Regions from separate parts of the Homo sapiens genome. Here all the other regions are linked to region 1. The links are contacts of gene promoters, found by promoter capture Hi-C in blood cells and fetal thymus (Javierre and others, 2016). All regions are on one chromosome and are shown on one strand. Each heading gives the region's core, a stretch centred on a gene start or on the middle of the fragment in contact. The rest is flanking DNA. Distances are from core to core; before and after follow the strand shown.

Evidence for each region. The method cuts DNA at HindIII sites, captures the fragments that hold promoters and counts their contacts. A CHiCAGO score of 5 or more calls a contact.
Region 2: a contact is called between a fragment that was not itself captured here and the fragment with the promoter of SH3BGRL2 in region 1, in 1 of 17 cell types (megakaryocytes). The highest score is 5.3, in megakaryocytes.
Region 3: a fragment that was not itself captured here is called in contact with the fragment with the promoter of SH3BGRL2 in region 1 in 1 of 17 cell types (megakaryocytes); the score reaches 5.3 in megakaryocytes.
Region 4: a contact is called between a fragment that was not itself captured here and the fragment with the promoter of SH3BGRL2 in region 1, in 1 of 17 cell types (erythroblasts). The highest score is 5.4, in erythroblasts.
Region 5: a fragment that was not itself captured here is called in contact with the fragment with the promoter of SH3BGRL2 in region 1 in 2 of 17 cell types (erythroblasts and megakaryocytes); the score reaches 6.1 in erythroblasts.
Region 6: a contact is called between a fragment that was not itself captured here and the fragment with the promoter of SH3BGRL2 in region 1, in 3 of 17 cell types (erythroblasts, megakaryocytes and M1 macrophages). The highest score is 6.5, in erythroblasts.
Region 7: a contact is called between a fragment that was not itself captured here and the fragment with the promoter of SH3BGRL2 in region 1, in 1 of 17 cell types (megakaryocytes). The highest score is 6.0, in megakaryocytes.

The regions. Positions count from the first base shown.
Region 1 is chr6:79,629,868-79,632,624 of GRCh38, forward strand. It overlaps SH3BGRL2 (SH3 domain binding glutamate rich protein like 2), which reads left to right and starts at 1,462. Exons shown (of 4, transcript NM_031469.4): 1 at 1,462-1,639. The coding sequence starts at 1,595. The HindIII fragment of the contact is 2,885 bases long and covers 1,161-2,757 here.
Region 2 is chr6:79,033,066-79,035,765 of GRCh38, forward strand. The region is part of intron 7 of PHIP (PHIP subunit of CUL4-Ring ligase complex); the gene reads right to left. The region is part of intron 1 of LOC124901346 (a long non-coding RNA gene); the gene reads left to right. Among named protein-coding and RNA genes, the nearest start is that of PHIP, 44 kb to the right of the region's middle. The HindIII fragment of the contact is 464 bases long and covers 1,032-1,495 here.
Region 3 is chr6:79,053,058-79,055,757 of GRCh38, forward strand. The region is part of intron 6 of PHIP (PHIP subunit of CUL4-Ring ligase complex); the gene reads right to left. All of the region lies in intron 1 of LOC124901346 (a long non-coding RNA gene), which reads left to right. Among named protein-coding and RNA genes, the nearest start is that of PHIP, 24 kb to the right of the region's middle. The HindIII fragment of the contact is 2,931 bases long and covers 1-2,700 here.
Region 4 is chr6:78,982,727-78,985,593 of GRCh38, forward strand. It overlaps PHIP (PHIP subunit of CUL4-Ring ligase complex), which reads right to left. Exons shown (of 40, transcript NM_017934.7): 22 at 2,626-2,702; 23 at 160-391. Among named protein-coding and RNA genes, the nearest start is that of PHIP, 94 kb to the right of the region's middle. The HindIII fragment of the contact is 4,214 bases long and covers 1-2,867 here.
Region 5 is chr6:79,002,130-79,004,829 of GRCh38, forward strand. It overlaps PHIP (PHIP subunit of CUL4-Ring ligase complex), which reads right to left. Exons shown (of 40, transcript NM_017934.7): 16 at 1,601-1,729. It overlaps LOC124901346 (a long non-coding RNA gene), which reads left to right and starts at 1,723. Exons shown (of 2, transcript XR_007059652.1): 1 at 1,723-2,573. The HindIII fragment of the contact is 4,846 bases long and covers 1-2,700 here.
Region 6 is chr6:78,907,160-78,909,859 of GRCh38, forward strand. It overlaps a transcript of IRAK1BP1 not described here. Among named protein-coding and RNA genes, the nearest start is that of IRAK1BP1, 41 kb to the left of the region's middle. The HindIII fragment of the contact is 1,887 bases long and covers 330-2,216 here.
Region 7 is chr6:78,944,425-78,947,178 of GRCh38, forward strand. PHIP (PHIP subunit of CUL4-Ring ligase complex) reads right to left here. Exons shown (of 40, transcript NM_017934.7): 37 at 2,287-2,450; 38 at 1,577-1,836; 39 at 876-1,073. It also overlaps a transcript of IRAK1BP1 not described here. Among named protein-coding and RNA genes, the nearest start is that of IRAK1BP1, 78 kb to the left of the region's middle. The HindIII fragment of the contact is 334 bases long and covers 1,189-1,522 here.

The DNA of each region.
Region 1 (2,757 bases), core at 212-2,711:
GAGTTCCAATTATTTGAGTTTAACTATATCTTCATAGCTGAATAATTCCAAACTGAAGAAAATGCTGACTTTTATAAAGATTTGCATTTATATAGGAAATACGGTATCTACTTTTAAGAAAATTATTTTCTATTTTATAAACGTGCATTTCCACATTTATGGTAGCAAAATTAAAGTACATTTGCCGAGAGATACTAAAGACAGCAAAACTTCTATTTAAAATTTTAAACACGAAGAAGAAATAAAGTCCCATTAGGAGTGTCTCTTCTATTATTGAAGGAAATTTAAAAAGATTCCTACTACAGAAATGGCTTTAAGAAAAGCAATAGGAAAGGTTATAAATTTGAAATATTCATAACTGTTCTAAAAAATACTTCATAATGATTGCTCTTTGTGCAAGAAATGTATCAAAGAGCCAGAGACCTCATCATCTAATTTCTTACTTTTTCTTAATTAACATTGTTCCCAGACCTCTGCTAAACTCCCGTGTTGAAAGGAAAAAAGTAAATACAGTACAGCAGGGAAAACTGGTTCCTTTCGACAAAACTGAGAGAGAGGCTTGAGCTTTTGTCAAACAGAAAGCACTTGATAAAAAACTATTCCTAAACTATTAGCAACTATATAGAAGCTTTTTATTTAACAGCATCCTCCTGGGAAACTGCGCTGGAATGTGCAGCGGTTCTGAAAAAGGCACAGATTTGGCTGAACTGTAAATATTAGGTGCACAGAGGCGAAGCCATTGTGTAGGGAGGGGTGGGGCAGGTAGGGTCCTGATTTCCAATGTTGATAGAAGGATTCCAATTTCGTTTGGTATTTATTTTTTTCTACTACAATTACAGTTTTGCTGAGAAAAATAAAATATTGGTTGTGCTTCCATCTGGGTTTCTAATTTTCAGTGTGTACAGACAAGAGAAGACCTCTCATTTACCCAAAAGAATCACCTTTCTGCAATCTCCAGTGCTACTGGACAAACAAACGAGCCCAACCCCACCGCCCACACCTCCCAAGCACCCGGCTCGCCGATCCCGCCTGCTTCAGGTAGCTGGGGTTTGCCCGGTACGCCAGCGGCCCTGAGACGATGTGTGCCCGCAGCACGATCGTGTCTGTTGGCATTTCTGGGTGTGGATGCTCCAAACCAATAAACCACAATACAGAACCCAAGCTTGGACTTTGAACCGAGCCCTTTTGCCTAGTTTGCTTTTTCCTCATCAAGCCAGGATCCTTGCCAACCCACCTCACAGCTTCTGCCCGGGCTGTGGCTCCCCTCCAGCCACCTGCGCGTGTTCGGGATAGAAGCGCGGTCAGGAGGGGAGCTCAGTCCACCAGCCACTCCAGGGAGAGACGGAAACTACAAATCCCATCAAGCCCCGCAGCCGGCTCCCTCCTCCTCCCTCTCCTTCCCCTTCAGCCTGCGGCCGGGCGGCGCTGGGCTTTTATCTGCGGACCCGCCGGGAGGGAGCCAGATCCCAGCGATCTTCCCCGACGGCAGCGCTTTACCCAGAGGCTGCCGGCGGCTCGTAGCTGGGTTCAGCTCTGCGTCCACGCCAGCCCGGAGCCCGGGGGGCAAGGGGTCTGTCCCGGGCGCAGCGAGAGGATGGTCATCCGCGTGTTCATCGCCTCTTCCTCGGGCTTCGTGGCGGTGAGCGCGGTGGGGGCGGGCAGTAGGTTGGGGTCGCGGGGCGCGGGTCCTGCGGGAGGCGCGCGGCGCTCGTCACTGCGCGTCCTTGCGCTCAGCCGGTCCGCCCGCGGGAGCCCGCGCCCGGCAGGTGATCCATCACACTCCGACAACAATGAAGAGGGCGGGGAGGAAAGGTGGGTGGGGGACCCCGGCCTCACCCAAATGCCCACCCTGCGTGGCCTGAAAGGCAGACAACGCGGCCTGAAAATGGAGTCCGAGGGAAGCCCCCAGCTCCTGTTGTGTGGCATGGAAATTTGGGGAACGGGTTGTTCAAGAGCTTCGGGGATCCCCCTTCCCCTAGTTTAGTTCTTCCCGATTTGGGACCTTCAGACTGGTTATGTTTTGCACGGGAGCCTTTTCTGCTGCTTTGGTTTGTTACCCTAGCTCCTGAATGAAGCAAGTTTAAGTGGGAATTGCTCTCTGTCCTCCCTTCCCCGCCAGCAAGTGCATTTGTTTAGTTTTATACCTGCGCAAAGAGAATAGTAAAACTAGGTTTGTCCTGTTGTGGTAGGATTGTTTGCTTTCACTGTCATTTTTTTTCTTAGGGTGCCATAAATATTTTTACATCTTTATGTAAATGTGTGTGTATGCACGCATTTTCTTTCCACCTGTAATGCTGTGGAAATTTTATCCTGGGGATCTATGAATTGTGGTTTTCTATTTAATTATTTTTAGCTATTCTCTTTGGTGGATGTTCTTGAATTTTTTTAGAGAAAAAAAATTTTTTTAAAGAAAGGAAAGTTAAATAGCTAGAGATGTCAGAATTTAAGGAAAATTCAGTAGTTAGTATATTTGACAGCCCACTAAGGGACATAGCACATGTGTTTTACATGATTATTGAGACTTGGTTTCCTTAACCAAGAGTTCAGCTATAGATTTAAGAGCCTCCTTTGTGACATATATAATCAAGTAACATCAAAAAGTGCATTGTAGATTGCTTAAATTTGGTCTGGTCAATTGTCTGCCCAGTAGCTCAGTCAGATTGTTCCAAAATTTGTTTCTTAAGTGGGTGGAGTGGAGGATGGAATAAAATATTGTTTGAAAATCCTTGTACACCACTGAAGTTTTTTATTTAAAAA
Region 2 (2,700 bases), core at 14-2,513, 600 kb before region 1:
TTTTTTTTCTGAGCAGTAGGTATCAACAGTGGGCTTAAAATATTCAGTAAACCACGCTATAAAAAGATATGCTGTCATCCAGACTTTGTAGTTCCCTTTACAGAGCACAAGCAAAGTAGTTTAGCATAATTCTTATGGTCCTAGAATTTAAAAAATGGTAAATGGACACTGGTTTCAACTTCAAGTCACTAGCTGCATCAGCCCTGAACAAAAGAGTCAGCCTGCTTTTTGAAGCTTTGAAGCCAGGCATTGACTTCTCTCTAATTATGAAAGTCCTAGATGATGTATTTTTCCAATACACAGCTGTTTCACCTGTAATTGAGAATCTATTGCTTAGTGTAGCAACTTTCTTCAATGATCTTAGCTAGGTCTTTTGGATAATTTGCGGCAACTACTTCATTAGCACTTGTTGCTTCACGTTGCACTTTTATGTTATGGAGATGGCTTTTTTCCTTAAACCTCGTAAGCCAACCTCTGCTAGCTCCAACTTTTCTTATGTAGCTTCCTCATCTCTCAGCCTTCACAGAATTAAGAGTCAGGGTCTTGCTTTGGATTAGCCTTTGGCTTAAAAGAGTATTGTGGCTAGTTTTGATCTCCTATAGAGACCACTTAAACTTTCTCTATATCAGCAATGAGCTCTTTAACTTTCTCATCATTTGTGTGCTCACTGGAGTAGCACGTTTAATTTCCTTCAAGAACTTTTGCTTTACATTCACAACTTGGCTAACTCTTTTAACATGCATTCCTCACTCGCCTTAATCTTTTCTAACTTTTGAATTAAAGTGAGAGACCTGAGACTCTTCCTCTCACTTGAACACTAAGAGGCCATTGTAGGGTTATTAATTGGATTAATTTCAATAGGCAGGCCCAAGGAGAGAAAAATGGGGAAGGGCCAGTTGGTGGAGCAATCAGAACACATGCAACATTCATTAAGTTCGCCATAAGGGTGCAGGTCATGGCACCCTAAAAAGACTTACAATAGGAACATCAGAGATTATAGATCACCATAACAGTTATAATAATAATGAAAAAGCTTGAAATATTGTGAGAAGTATCGAAATGTGAAAGAGACAAGACTTGAGCATATGTTGTTAGAAAAATGATGCTGACAGACTTGCTTTACTCAGGGTTTTCACAAATATACAATTTGTAAAAAATACAGTATTTGCAAAATGCAATAAAGGCACAATGAAACAGGGTACGTCTGTATTAGCATTTTTCATAAAGCCTAGGCAGTGTCTAGTAACACATTTGACTTTAATGTTCTCATGAAGAAAAGTTCCACAGGTCTTTATGACGTGGCTTTCTACTGTTAGGCACTTTGGTATTAAAATTATCCTCAAAATCCAGAAAAAAATGGCCTACGTACTGCCATGAAAACTTCAAACAACTTCAGACACAGGGCCATGAATCACTTCAATTCGATGCAGAAACCAAACAGCACCTAAAGTCTATGCCCCCAAATTTTAATAATTTAATGAGTTTCCAGAGGTTAAGCTTCAAAAGGCCTAATTGAACTATTTATTTATTTAAAGAAAAGCTAAGTTTCAGAACAACTTGATAGAGCTCTTTCTGGTATGGCTTATTTACAGATACTCTGACTACATAAATGAAATACAGGCCTTTCTATGCAAGGCCAAGAAGTCAATTTAGGCCCAGATGTTGCAAAACTATGAAGTAGACAATTAGAGAGGACAATTCTGTTCAGTAATAAAGTAATTTACAGGAAGCAGCATAAATGACAAGGAATGGTTGAATTCTCTAAGTGAAATCATGCCCCAAAGAGTTAAAGAAATCAACGACTAACATTGATTAACACTGAATGACTAATATTCTTTGAGTGTGCGGGATGGCAACTAAGAAACAACTTGTCCAAACACTGAAACTCCCTCTACTTATGAGATAGAACTGGCTGAAATCAGTTGGAACCAAGATGGCCAACTGGAGTCTGCACAGAACAAGCTTGCTGACATCATAGCCTGACTATCTACCACATTTCATACTAACTACCCTAGAATTTGCACATGTGACCCATGAGGTATCATAATGAGTTAACTGTGCATGCCCAGGGACATTCCAGACCTCCCCTTTCCTTCCACCAAACACCTACTAATCTCAGAATTCACCCCTACTGAACCTGTAATAAAAATACTGCCTTGAAACCAGCATGAGGAGACAGATTTGAGCTTGACCCCTGAGTCTTCTTGGGAGTTGACTTTCAATATAAAGCTTTTCTTTTCTCAAAAACCCAGTGTCATAGTATTGGCTTCTAGTACACTGGGCAGCAAGCCCCCTCTGCTCAATAACACAAGCAGAAAACTGTACACATTGGGAAACAGTTTACTTCTGTTCAGATAACTTGAGAAACCTTAAAATTAAAATATTGACCTATGTACCTAAAAGAGAGGCATAAATTATACAAAGATTACTACTTTGACATGAAAATAAAAGAAATTATGTGATTTTTTAACTAAAAATATCTTAGAGAATTTGGCATTCCTTGAAAACCTACTGTTATCTGGCAGAGTCAACAAGGAGAATTTTAATTTCTCTTGAGGCTACTTTACAGCTTTTGAGTCAGAGATCTCATCTCTTATTGCCATTAGAATAAGCAGTAGAAATGAATGCCAAAAATGTTGTCTGTATTGTCATATTTACTACAATTTCATTTTCCTATTCAAGCTAAAAAGTAACCTGCTT
Region 3 (2,700 bases), core at 162-2,661, 580 kb before region 1:
CTGTAATCCTAGCACTTTGGGAGACCGAGGTGGATCACTTGAGGTCACGAGTTCGAGACCAGCCTGGCCAACATGGTGAAACCCCGTCTCTACTAAAAATACAAAAATTAGCCGGGTGTGGTGGTGCATGCCTGCAGTCTCAGCTACTTGAGGGGCTGAGGCAGGAGAATGGCTTGAACCTGGGAGGAGCAAGTTGGAGTGAGCCGACATTGCGCCACTGCACTTCAGCCTGGGCAACAGAGCGAGACTCAATCTCAAAAGAATAAAATTAAATTAAAAATGTAGGGTTATCTTAAAGAGTTGCTATAGAAAACAGACGAGACAAAATGTTTTGCAAATTCAAAGGTATTTTATACTAACATTGATATGGACTGTCCCTAAACAATCAAATCTTCATGTGCCATAAAAGTTAATTTAACTGAACATAGTTTTCTTTTACTTTTTAAAAGACTTTTGTTGGAGCCCAATTTTCCCCGAGGCTTCCTTATGGAGCTGAACAAATTATTCCTTTGTTTATAAAAATATCTATTCAGCCTGATCTGATCATGGACTTCCCAGGTCCAAAAGATGTCTAAGAAAACACTGAATACGTAACTTTAAAGGATCCCTGAAGAAATTCAAAATAAAAAGTCATGACCTTATGAGAAAATAATATCATAATTTGCTTCACCTACACAGATATGAGTATTCAACAAAATCAAACCCAATAATCACTCTGGAAAAATATGTGATGCAAACTAAAAGGGAAAATGGCTAGTGATTCCTAATTACTACTGGAATTGCTTGCCAGATGGTTTATATGAAGTGGAGGGGATATCCCTCATCACATCTATAACCTAAAAACAAATGTTATCCTATTAGTTACAGAAGAAATTAAAACACAGCTAGCTACAAAAGCAACAATTTAAACTCACCTAAGGGAGTTTCATTTCTTCAAAGTTTTGCCCCCTTTTTTTTGTCAACCATTAATTTCAAAAGAAATTTAAGCAGAGGAAAAAATAAATAAATATATATTTTGTACATCTGATACTTTGGCATAATGAACATTATTTCCCTAAAAAAAAAAAAAATGCTAATACACCTTGCAAGTCTCTCACAGCTAACCTGTTTTTAAGAGGCAAAAAAAAGGGAGGAAATAGAAAGGCAGGGGAGGGGCTAGGGAGAAAATAGTTAATAAAACAACAAAACCTGTGTCAAATAGAAATATGAAGATCATTCAGGGAAAACACTAAAAAACAAAGACCAAGACAAAAAAGAATATAACTGAGTCAACAATCATTAAACCAAAAAAAAAAAAGCGAAGTATAAAACCTTTATAAGACTAAAATTATGACTAGAAAAACAGAAAATGAGCTCTAAAAGTAAAAATGGTTACTGAGAAACAATAGGTTAAAATAAATATATTTAAATAAGTGATGAGTAGATATCTAACTAGGAATAAAGTATGGATTGAGTAAGAAAATGGAAAGAAAAAACACTGAATATAGCATATTAGAAAAAGATAAGTGAACAGGAAAAAAACCCCATATATTATATCCTATAATTTGCTGAATTATATGTAACTGTTAACTTATATATTAAAATTATGTAATCTCATATATTTGTAATATAAAAAAATTCTAATAATTATGTAAGAAATATATGAGGAAAAATATAAACCTAAGAGTCTAAGAAAAAAAAACCTTGATTGAATAAATTTAAGAAATTACCAGCTACAGAAAATTCAAACACAATATTGGAAATATGGCAAAATATAGCACAAGGTGAGAAAGAAGAGTCTTCTCTACAAAGATTTGCATCTAGCTTTAAGTGACTGTTTGCTGTCTTTATTCAAACTAGTCTTCTCAGAGAATCACAAAATTATAAATGTAGACAAGATTTAAGACTTTTTTTTTTTTTAAATGCAAAGGCTTCTTAGCATTAATTGGATGTCTGGGTAGTGAAGCTACTTTTCAAGGCAAAGTTTTTTCCTTACCCTCAAACATGTTTAAGAATCAGGATTCTCAAAACTCCTTATCCTCACACAAAACTGCAGAACTTAATAGCAAACCTCCACAGACAAGTAAAATAAAAATATGGAAATACTTAGGCAAAACACCAAAAACGATGACAAATGAAAGACCTAGAGATAAAAAGTTTACTTTGCTAACATGTCAAATGTAAGAAAAATGCAAACAAAGCAATCAGCAGAAATTGCTTTAATTTAATGTATTACAATCTTTTTCACAAGATAAACATGCATTAAACCAACTTCCAAATTTAATCTTAAAAACCCCTTTAATGTATTTAGGTCTCTTCTTTCCTATCTCCCCTTACTCATGCACATTTATTACTGAAGTATAAGCAAATATAGAATAAACTATATCTGAAAACAGGCATAATGTGGGTATGGAGGTAAGAGAAAGGACAATACTAAAGATTCGCTAATACCTTTGGAAGTAAATGCTGCTATGCCAAGTACACACTCACATCTCTCTTCCACAATAAAAGAATCACAAGCTAGTAATAACAACAGATCAGTGGGATCTTTTGTCTTTGCTTTTGAAAACAGTATTAAAGGAGGTTCTAGAGCACTGGAAGGCAGGTGAACCACTTTGGGTCTCTTGCTGAGACTGAGTTCTAGTTCAATTTTCACAACTTACATCAAAGACCAAAAGGTTCAAAGTAGTTGGGAATTCTAAGCACATAATAAAATAAAAC
Region 4 (2,867 bases), core at 1-2,500, 650 kb before region 1:
ATATTTAGGTAAACTTTTTTACTACTGTGTATTTCTGAGTTTTTTCTATTATTATTTGCTGATACACTTCAACAATGTTTGTGATCAATTGTACTTCAAGATGTGTGCTTTAAACTGTTTCTCTAGAAAACACCAAATTTGTAATGTTAAAAACCAAACCTTTTGTTTTCTTTCTTTGGGCTTCTTTTTCTTTGGTGATATTGGTCCATCTTTTTCTTCATTTACTTTTTTCTTTTCCTTTTTAATCTGTTTTTGCTTCTGTTTTTCAGATTCTTCTTCTTCATCTGAACTGCTTTCTGCTTTCTTGGTTTTATTCTTAGGAACTTTCTTTGGTGGCTGCAGATTAATTCCTGCATCTGCTGTCCAGTCAGAGTAATCACTGGAGTAGTCACTAGAAGGAGAGAAGGGATTATTAGATAACACACAAGATAAAATTTTAAGACTTGTTTTATAAAAACGAAAAGAAAGATTATAATAAAGAGAAATGACAGAACAAATACTTAAACTACAAAAAAACTTCCCTAATTTTCAACTCATCTTCAAAAGTTTCTTGAAATTCTATAGGCTTTACTTAAATATCGCAAAAAAACTCCCCCAAAACCTGAAGATACATAAAGTCACAACTTTAAGTGAAAAAACAAATTTAAGTACCTTCCAAGATTTTAAGAAAAATACTGACTTCTGAGTGTTGCATATGTTACAAATTCTGTGAGCATATAAAAATAAGAGGGGGTCACTTTTCTCAGTTCTATTGACAGCAAAAAGATAACCCTGGAGAGCACAGAAGGTGTCAACATTAAGGAGATATGGGGATTCCTTTTTTAAGGGGAGGTGGGAGTTCCAGACAGGGGAACTCTTATGGTCCAGTACTAGTGCTCTCAGGGTAGCTGGATATTGAACTGGCAGAGTCAGAAGTGTTCCTACCCAGGGGAAAGACTGTGTTTGCAAACTTTACTCTGCATGTAAAGTAACAAAATTTCATTTAGATAAAATTATTCTACCTACCTACACCCTACACGTTAGGTGTATCTTATGCTTCAAAGCATGCCATGATTCAGAAAAATACAGGCCTTACTATATTTTGTATACTGCTTCCAATCATGTTTGTCATTTCTTTTTAGTTTACCTTCATTGACAAACGATTTACTGAACCAATCATGTTGCAAAATAAAGAATCTAGTTGTATTATCTTCTATATTAATTTTAGTATGTGAGCATATTTACTTATTTTGTACAATTTTATGAACATAAATGTCTTAAAGGAACCTAAGTTATACTATGTTAAAAGCAATAATTAGCTTTCCCAGATTTAATGATATATGACCTCATGCCTCTAAAAATACTGCTGTTAACATTAACACTGAAAAAGCAGATTTTTCTGGAGCTTTATTCCATTGTCACTAACCCTCCCCACTACCCCTCTCCACTGTCCAAATGTTCTTTATAAGCACGTACCTAAATCTCTGATTATCCTAATCATCCCAGATAAGAATCAAATAATTAAGATGTTCTCTAGCATGATTTAGTGATTTCACTATGAAATTTAAAATGATTTTTAAGAACTTACACTATTTTCAGCTATGCTATTCTAAAATAGGTTGTCTTCAACTTATGAGCATTTTATTTATACTAGCTCCAGCCATGGCCACTGTAAATGGTACCTGCCAAATCACACAGTTATCACTCTCTGGAGTACTTGGCTCTTACAGAAGATCTTCTGCTGTCAGCATAAACATAATTACAAACTCCAGAGTCCAGCATTCTTTACAACCGTCCTCAACTGCTAAAACCACCACTACTCTTTTAATACAGGAACTCCTATGTCATCTCAGGGTTTGAAATACTCTGATTCTGCTGTCGAGCCAAAAGAAATTCAATTTTTCCTTCATTGACCTGTTTTGAATACAGAAAACTACTAGATATAACCACACACATTTGCACATCATTACCAGAAATCACTACTGTGGGAATAGGAGAGCCCTTGATTGTACAACTGAGGAACTCTTACAGCCTCTACTTCATACTTTGTCTCGTCTATTTTAAGAGCCACTAAGGTGGGGGATAAGTGTAGCAGCTAATCATAATTGCCATCCCCAAAGGCTATACTCTCTTTTTGCTATTAAGACCTTGCAAAGTTAGCCAAGGTCATAAGCTCTGCAACAATGTGAATCGCCAGTATAAGGAGTTGAAGGAATCCTCACTGGTCTGGTCAAATAAGGTAGGCATAACAAGAAAAAGGAGAGCTTATTCCTCTTATCATTAGTATTCCATAAATTCCACTATATAAGATAGTTAACTCAGGAGGCTTGCATTGCTTTCTTAACTTCATACTTTTCAAAACCAGTAATGAAACTGGTTTGCAATTCAACATTATAACGGTATTCAGAAGAAACAATACTAAGATGATAAAGTTAAAAGCATCATTTTGCAGATCTAGTTGCAATCACCAAAAAATTATTTTCTATAGAGAACATATATCAGAAAATCTACATTTCATACAACTTCAAAAACTCTCTGAAGAACTTTGAACTTACAGAGACTTTGAAACGTGTTGCTGGTTAAAAAAAAAAACACCTTTCTAAAGACTTTATATAACATTTGGAAAAATAAAAAGCATTCATTTACCTAGAACTGCCATCACTGTGCCATGCTCTCTCTTCTTCTTCGGATGTTCCACCACTGACAGCAACTACTTCGCCTTCCTAAGATATGTTGAATACATGTCTTATTGCATAATTTTATAAAATAACATTTTATGATTACAGAAAATATCAGTGATATCTTATAATATCAGTCATATTGGGATATTTAAAATTTGATTTAAATTAGTTGCAAAGGGTGTTGTGGCTCACGCCTGTAATCCCAAC
Region 5 (2,700 bases), core at 124-2,623, 630 kb before region 1:
AAAAGAAAAGTCCATAAAAGACTGGAAAAATAAAAATGTATCATTGTAGAAAAAAAGTCTACATCATTTCTAATAGAAAGCAAACACCTGAATACGAATAATGGTATTAAGCAACAATTTTTAAAATATTATTTTCCTGAATTAATTGTAAATAGGTATTTTAATTTTCTACCTTAAGTATTATGATCAGAAAAGTAGCTGCTTTAAATTTTCTCTGAAACAAGTAAGGGATTATACACAGGAGTCCCCTCTTATTTGCAATTTTGCTTTCCATGGTTTCAGTTACCTGTGGTCAACCTGACTCCAAAAATGCTGTTCCAGAAATAAACAACTCATAAGTTTAACTGTGCACTGTTCCAAAATGCATAATGAAATCACGTGCCATCTCACTTGGGACACAAATCATCCCTTTGTCCAGCATATCCACATTGTCTAGATATGCTACCCACCCATTACTGTATAGGAAAAACACAGTGTGAATAGGGTTTGGTACTTTCCAAGGTTTTAGACATCCATTTGGAGTCATGGAACATATTCCCTGTGGATAAGAGGAGGCTACTGTGTAGAAAAGCTACCACTAAAAATAAGCTATTCAATATTCAATTTTAAATTAAATGGTAACATCAAATCTAGTCATAAATCATTCAACAGTATTTTTACTTCCACAGAGCTACCATGCTTTATCTTAAATCCTTAGGTATACAGTAAGTATGATTTGTGTAATATTACTATAAAAATCACATAAGATTTTCTAAGGGTTAATAAGCATTTTCTCTAAATGTTTTGAGATGATATAAAATTATTAATATAAACTCAACCAGGACATAAATTTTATTATATAAAATTTCACTGGTTAATTTGCAATTTTTTAAACTAAATTATAAACTACTCAATATTTACTATCATAACCTTTTATACCATTCCACCACAAGTAAGCAATTTAATTCTTTTAGTCACTAATCTTAAAGTTGGGGTCTTTAACTGCTGAGCAAAGTGGCAGGGCATATGCCTGTAGTGCCACCTGCAGTTATTTAGCAGGCTGAAATGAGAGGATTGTTTGAGCCCACGAATTCAAAGCCAGTCTAGGCAACATAGTGAGACATTTCACCCCTACTCTGTAAAAAAAAGCCCCCCAAAAACTGGACAGGATCTTTAATAAAAAACATTAACTACAATCAGGTAATATAATACATTTTTAAGAGCCACATGAAAGCCACAGATTTGTACCCTAGATAAGTACGTATTATCTATATTAAAAAAACATTTTACATAATTTCAGAGTCCCACTATGGATAACATCTTCCATCTCCAGTTTATATACCCCAAGTTAAGAATTCCAATCTAGATTGCCCCAGGAGGCTAAGAGTTATTTTTTTCCTGAAATATGCAGATTTTCAAATAATAAGCCCTATTAAAGTGAGATTTAACTGCTGTCTTCACCTTCCTTTCCGAAACTAAGTCTCCAGACTACTTAACACAAGATTCTTCGAATTTTATCCTGAATGTAAAGATGCTGATTCTCACCCACTCCAAAAACATACAACCCCTAAACATGCATTAAAAAAAAATAAGGACATGATATATAGTCATCATACTCTACCTTGTCATATTTGCTACTGGACCCAAAGCCAAAAATTAAAAGATGTCCATGAGAGTCTGTGCATGCAAAATGCTGACCATCAGGAGAGCATTTGCAGTCAAATACTGCGCCATGTCCTTGGCCTTCAATCTGAAATATATTTAACCAACAGTAAGAAAACTACCATTAAAATGAAAAGAATTGGTCACTATTATTACAATAATTTTAAGATAAAAGCATACATCCTAATGAAGTGAAGATTAAGTAAAACAAGCATTGTACAGTAATAAAATTTATGAATATTCATGAAAAGTGCCAGATTAATAGCCTTGAAAAATAAAGTATTCTATCCACAGACCAAACACAATTCAGGAAATAAAAGAATACCAACTCCCCCACCCATAGAATTCTGCTTCATGTTTTAAACTCAGATTTAACACATAATTATGTCTTACACTCCATCTATCTCCGTTCAATCATGCCCTTTCTGCAAAAGCTGACATGTAGCAACTGTACGGATTTTTTGGTAATTCTTGGAAGTAGTAGCCAGAGATCATTGCTCAAATGACACTAGATTTTATTATTTTTGGTAATAAATTCCCTGGTAGTCTGACTCGTCTTTTAAATGGTGAATTTCAAAGGTTAAAGAAAAGGTTTTTTTTACCTGATAATTGTTTTCTGTTTTCCAGTTCCATTAATCCAGAACGAATGGGTTTCCTCCCTGCAACCTGTCAATCAAACAGAGGTGGCCAATCACCACTCTGAATTTTTTGCTCTCAGTGCTTCTTCAGACTATGTTCCAGTTGAAAACTTCTTTAGCAGTGTTCTGAAAGAGGTAAAAATTCTACCCTATCTAAAGCACATCTAGGGACTGAATTTCAGAAACAACTAAAATAGGGAGTTGACTCCCTAACAAATAACAACTAAGGATGATTTTCAACAAATGCTGTTGGATTTCTGGATTAGCAGAATCGGAACACACACACATTATCAGGTAAGAAATACCTCCTTTCTGTTCCGGTATCCACTGATCTAGAACAAATTGAGCTTTATTAGTAATATCCCAGGAAATGCTTGGAAAAGAGAAAGGTAGTAACTTTCTTTCTTTAGTATTAAAAATG
Region 6 (2,700 bases), core at 23-2,522, 720 kb before region 1:
ACTAACTTTGCTGTGCAAATTATTTTAGAAATATTTACCCTTAAAATGCTAGGTGTTTTTCTAGTTACTGTGTGAATCTGTCACTAATTTTTATTTTTTGGTATTGGATTGAAAACTAATTAGAAACATTACCATATAATTAGCTTTCTTCCTAGTTATACCTATTTTTATTAAAATAAATGATAAATAGCACAATTTCCTCTGATTCAAGCACCATATTTTCCACAAAACTTGGGGTCATATAACAGGTATCTTACATTTGTGTGTCCAGATAAAAGCCCACCTGGTATTTGTGATGAAAATAAAGAGGAAGCTTCTACTGCAAGAAAAGCTTTCTTCACTAGGAACAGAAGATCCTTTCCTGAGGAAAGGGAAGTGAAATTCCAGAGACCCATTTAATCCATAGTTTCTGTGTTAAAACTAAAACTTTAGAAGCTGTTACTGAGAATGTTTATTTTGTCTGTGTGTTGTTGAATACACACACACAATGAAAAATTGAGGTAGCCTAATTATATTAGATGTTTTGCTTAGTAACTGAGATAACACTTGTTTTTATTTATTTATTATTATTTTTTTTTGAGACAGAGTCTCACTCTGTCACCCAGGCTGGAGTGCAATGGCGCAATCTCCATTCACTGCAACCTCTGCCTCCCGGGTTCAAGCCATTCTTCTGCCTCAGCCTCCCCAGTAGCTGGGACTACAGGCGCATGCCTCCAGGCCCAGCTAATTTTTGTGTTTTTAGTAGAGACGGGGTTTCACCATATTGGCCAGGCTGGTCTCAAACTCCTGACCTCTTGATCCGCCCGCCTCAGCCTCCCAAAGTGCTGGAATTACAGGCATGAGGCACTGCACCCGGCCTTTTATTTTTTATTTTATTTATTTATTTATTTATTTATTTATCTATTTTTTGAGACAGAGTCTCACTCTGTTGCTCAGGCTGGAGTGCATTGGTGTAATCTTGGCTCACTGCCACCTCTGCCTCCCGGGTTCAAGCAATTCTCCTGCCTCAGCCTCCCGAGTAGCTGGGAATACAGGTGCCCGCCATCATGCCTGGCTAATTTTTTTGTATTTTTAGTAGAGATGGGGTTTCACCATATTGGTCAGGATGGTCTTGAACTCCTAACCTCGTGATCCACCCGCCTCAGCATCCCAAAGTGCTGGGATTAAGGCGTGAGCCACCACACTCGGCCATTATTTTTTATTTTTTTAGAGCAGGGTCACACTCTGTTGCCCAGGCTGGAATGCAGTGGTGCCATCATAGCTCACTGTAACCTTGAACACCAGACTCAAGTGATCTTCCTGTCTCAGCCTCTTGAGTAGCTAAGACTCAACCAACACACCTGGCTAATTTTCCTATTTTTAGTAGAGATGAGGTCTCACTATGTTGCCCAGGCTGGTCTCAAACTCCTGGCCTCAGCTTATCCTCCCACCATGGCCTCCCAAAGTGCTAGGATTACAGGTGTAAGCCACCAGACTCAGCCAAGATGGCACTCATTGGTCAGTGTTCAATAGGTGCCTACATATTGCTAGCGTGTGCACATCTACCAGAAGAACTTCTGGGTTTAGACACATAATGGGGTGGAAAATCAATGTGCAATATTTTTTTAAGCCACCCTCAGCTGACTCTTCACCAACAGTAGTCTAATAGGTAGAAGATGGTGAGTCATCATCTGCCTTTCAAGTTCTTTCCCAACAACAGGTTTATTTCTTGATGTATGTGCAGTCCTAGAGCTGAAGGAGATAGATAGGATCAATTCTGGGCCCACCTTCTGTCTAATCTCAAACCTCTTCTACAGCATCCTTGATGATTTGTCAGCCAGCCTTTGGCATTAGAACGTTGATCAGAAACTGTGAGGAGTAATAGCATGAAAGGCCAGTCTTGGGACTACAGAGAAAATATGAAGTGATAAGAGGGAAAAGTGTATACTGAGAAGGAAAACTAATGATTTAAGATGGCGAAGCAAGCAAATACAGATGATCCTAACTTACGATAGTTCAATTTATGATTTTTCAACTTTATGGTGGTGCAAAAGCCATACACATTCAGTATATACCTCCACTTATGGCAGGAATATGTCCAGACAAGCCCATTATAAGTTGAAAATATCCTAAGTCAAAAACACACTTCTGACTTAGCAATATTTTCAATTTACATTGAGTTTATCCAGACATAATCTCATGGTGAATCAAGGAGCAGTTGTATCAGATTGGCCTGAAGCTTAGCACAGCCTCCTTCTCTTTCCCTGAAATGTAAAGATTTTAACCTAGCTTCTCTCAGCAATTTTCATAAAGTACTTCAACGTTCCCCTGAATGAAAACATAATTAAAGAGACATGTATTTGTATGCTCTTTTCACTTCCTGATTCCAAGCCGAAAAGCTGGGCTATTTAAGGGCATGACAAATGCAGAATTGCACAACTCTAAATCTGAACAGCACTGCTGGGTCCCCACATTTCACTAGGAGAAGGGCCTTTAATTTGCTCCAGCAACAATAAAAAGTGGTACATAGGCTAAGATGAAGTCCAGATGCCAAGGGAACCTATGAATTACTTTAAGACACATGGGAACCAATTACAATGTGTGGAGTTTATTTGGATCTTGATTCAAACACGCTAAATCAACAAATATTTATAGCAGGAGACATTTGGAAATTTGAATACAGACCAGATGTTTGATGTTATTTCTTTTCTTTTTTTGCTC
Region 7 (2,754 bases), core at 106-2,605, 690 kb before region 1:
GGAAGACCAGTTAGGAAACTAGGAAAATAGTCCAAGCAAGAAATTATGTAGGCCTTGAAATAATGTCATGGAGGTGAGAATGGAGAGGAGAGAATAGATTTAAGAGATGTTATGGAGGGAGAAACAACAAAAACAAAAAGCTGTTGAACAGATTCAGTTGCTGAAGAGAAGGCTAGGATGACTCCCTGATTTTAAGTTTACACGGGTAGATCCCAATGCCATTAACAAAAATAAGATTTCAGTAGAGAAATTAAATTTTGAGAGAGGTTTCTGAAGACAACAATGAAGAAATGTCTTAGACACACTTTGAAAGTCATGATGCAAAATGCTTATTATTGGGCTGTCTGCTGCCAAGAAGCCATATTATTTTAACATGTCACATGGCATATTTTATTATTTACCTTCTTCATCTTTCAAACATAAAGACTTTACAATAAAAACCTGGAGGTGAAAGAACTTGAAGTGTAACAGTAAGGTGTCAAAAGTTGTATTCTACAGTTGTAGACAACCCCAATGAATTATTATTTAGTAAAAGTCAGTCTAGAAAAATAAGTAGTTTTGTGATCCAATAATTACTTAAACATTTTTCTAGAAAAGTGAAGAATGCTACATTGGGTTAACTATACCCTATTTAATTTAAACTTTGAAGATTTATTTCTTTTTTTTTTTTTTCTTTTGAGACAGGGTCTCATTCTGTTTACCAGGATGGAGTGCAGTGGCACAATAATAGCTCATTGCAGTAAATTTATCAACTAATACAGATGTGTGACTTTTAAGTGGGCAACCTGAAAAGTGGATATAAATGCTGATTCCAACAAAAGCATTATTTATAATAAGGATCTACTGTATCTTGAAAGATACAAGTAATACCTTACCTTGCTCAATGACAGCTGATGACTTTGAAAGAGTGGACGCCTTTGGGAGTACAGATGACTTCATTTTACGTTTGACTGGCTTTTCCTTTTCCATGTTTTCTTTTGCAGAATTATTCCTAGTGCCATGACTAAAACTGGATTGACCAGGACTGGAAAGAGTATTCAAAGCTTTGGAATGTTTCACAGAATTCTCTAGTACTAAAACATACAAACAAAATTTAAAAATTAAGAGTTATTGAACCTAAAGATAAGAAAAAAGGTTAACCTGAATTATTTGAATTAGCCAAGACAACAAAACCTGAAGGATGCTTAAAGCTTTCTTAGGAAAGCTACTTTCTAATAGGAAAAAGGCGTATCCAACTAGAAACTCTTAATAGTTTCAGCCCTTTTAGAAGCTGTCCCATCATTTCAAAATTTCGAAGGCAAGTCTTGGCAAATTGCTAGCTAGTGTGGGTACTGTGATTTAAATTCAGGTAGTTTAGATCAGAGTTGCCATTTTTAAGCATTAGTCTATAATGACCTAAACCTCAATTTAATTCTTCTTATTAAAAACTTTTTTTTAAAATAGGAAATTAATAAAGAAGGCAAAAACAACAGTGTCTGCTAGGAATTACTAAAACTCAGTATATTGCATTTGGCAAAGTAAAAGCTTAAATTAAGAAAATCATCATATACATTTCAATTTAGAAAGTGAGTCTTACTTGTTTTCCCTGGTATTGCAGATGCATTAGCTTTTGTAATAAAAGTCTTTGCAGCTGAAGAAGTAGATGGTTGCTCAGTGACAACTGGATCTACAACCACTCGGTTGCTTCTGGTTCGAACCACAGAACTAGATTCTGTTTTACCGTTTATCTGAGCAGCATTGTGTCTTGGCGGTATTGATCGTGTAGGTGTAGAGAATGCAGAGGTAGAGCTTTCTGATTTTAGCTGGGGTTTTAAGATCCTTTTTTTCCTTTCAGGGCTGTAAATAAAATAGTATTGTCAGTCACTCTTATAGCTCTATGTGAACGAATAAAACAGTTTATAATATTTTTGGATTCAATATTTGTACTATTATGAAATATGTTAAAATATGAGATTTATAGTGGATTTCATATGATTGTGAGCCTTTGAAAGTGAATATTTAGTGAAGGATCGCTGTAAATGCTAAAGTTATATGACGGAAAGCATGATGCCATCACTATCCTAAAAATGCTGTTTTACTGTATAGATTTAGCAGTTTGAATTTAAGCACTTACACTAGTATAGCTTTAGTTAAAAGATTAAAAATCCTCCACATCATAGGAACTTGCATGTCAAATTATCATTCTGCAATATAGGGAATAGTAAAGGAAGTATTAAAAAACACCAAGTTCTATCATTTAGATGAAAGTTATAGATCAGCTAGTGGTATTTAAAAGAAATTAAATACCTTGATGCAGCACTACTGGAAACAGAGCTGCTTCTGTTTCTTTTCTTCCTCCTTTTGGTTATGGTATTTCTTTTATGAAAACGAAGAGCAGATTTATAATCTGATAAAACTGAACTAATGTGTTCTTCAAAGAAAGCAGACAGGCGCAAACTCATGCTGTAAATCTGTGAGGGAAAAAAAAAAGTGTTCAACCATTCCTTGGAGGAAAATACCTTTGTTCAGTAAATACTGTAATGTAAATATTTTTCCAGTAAAAAATATTTAGAATTTAATTATTGTTTTTTACATCCCTTTTTCCTAATCTTTTGATGAAAAGGTAAACTGAAGCATTTTAACAATTATGTATTTTTGTGTTTAGAACAGAAATCTTCCAAGTTTTGAGATTCTTAAAGAAAAGTCCGACTCTAAATTCAAATGGCTCATACAGACAAAACTTATTGTCAACTTTATTACACTGAAACTATCCCA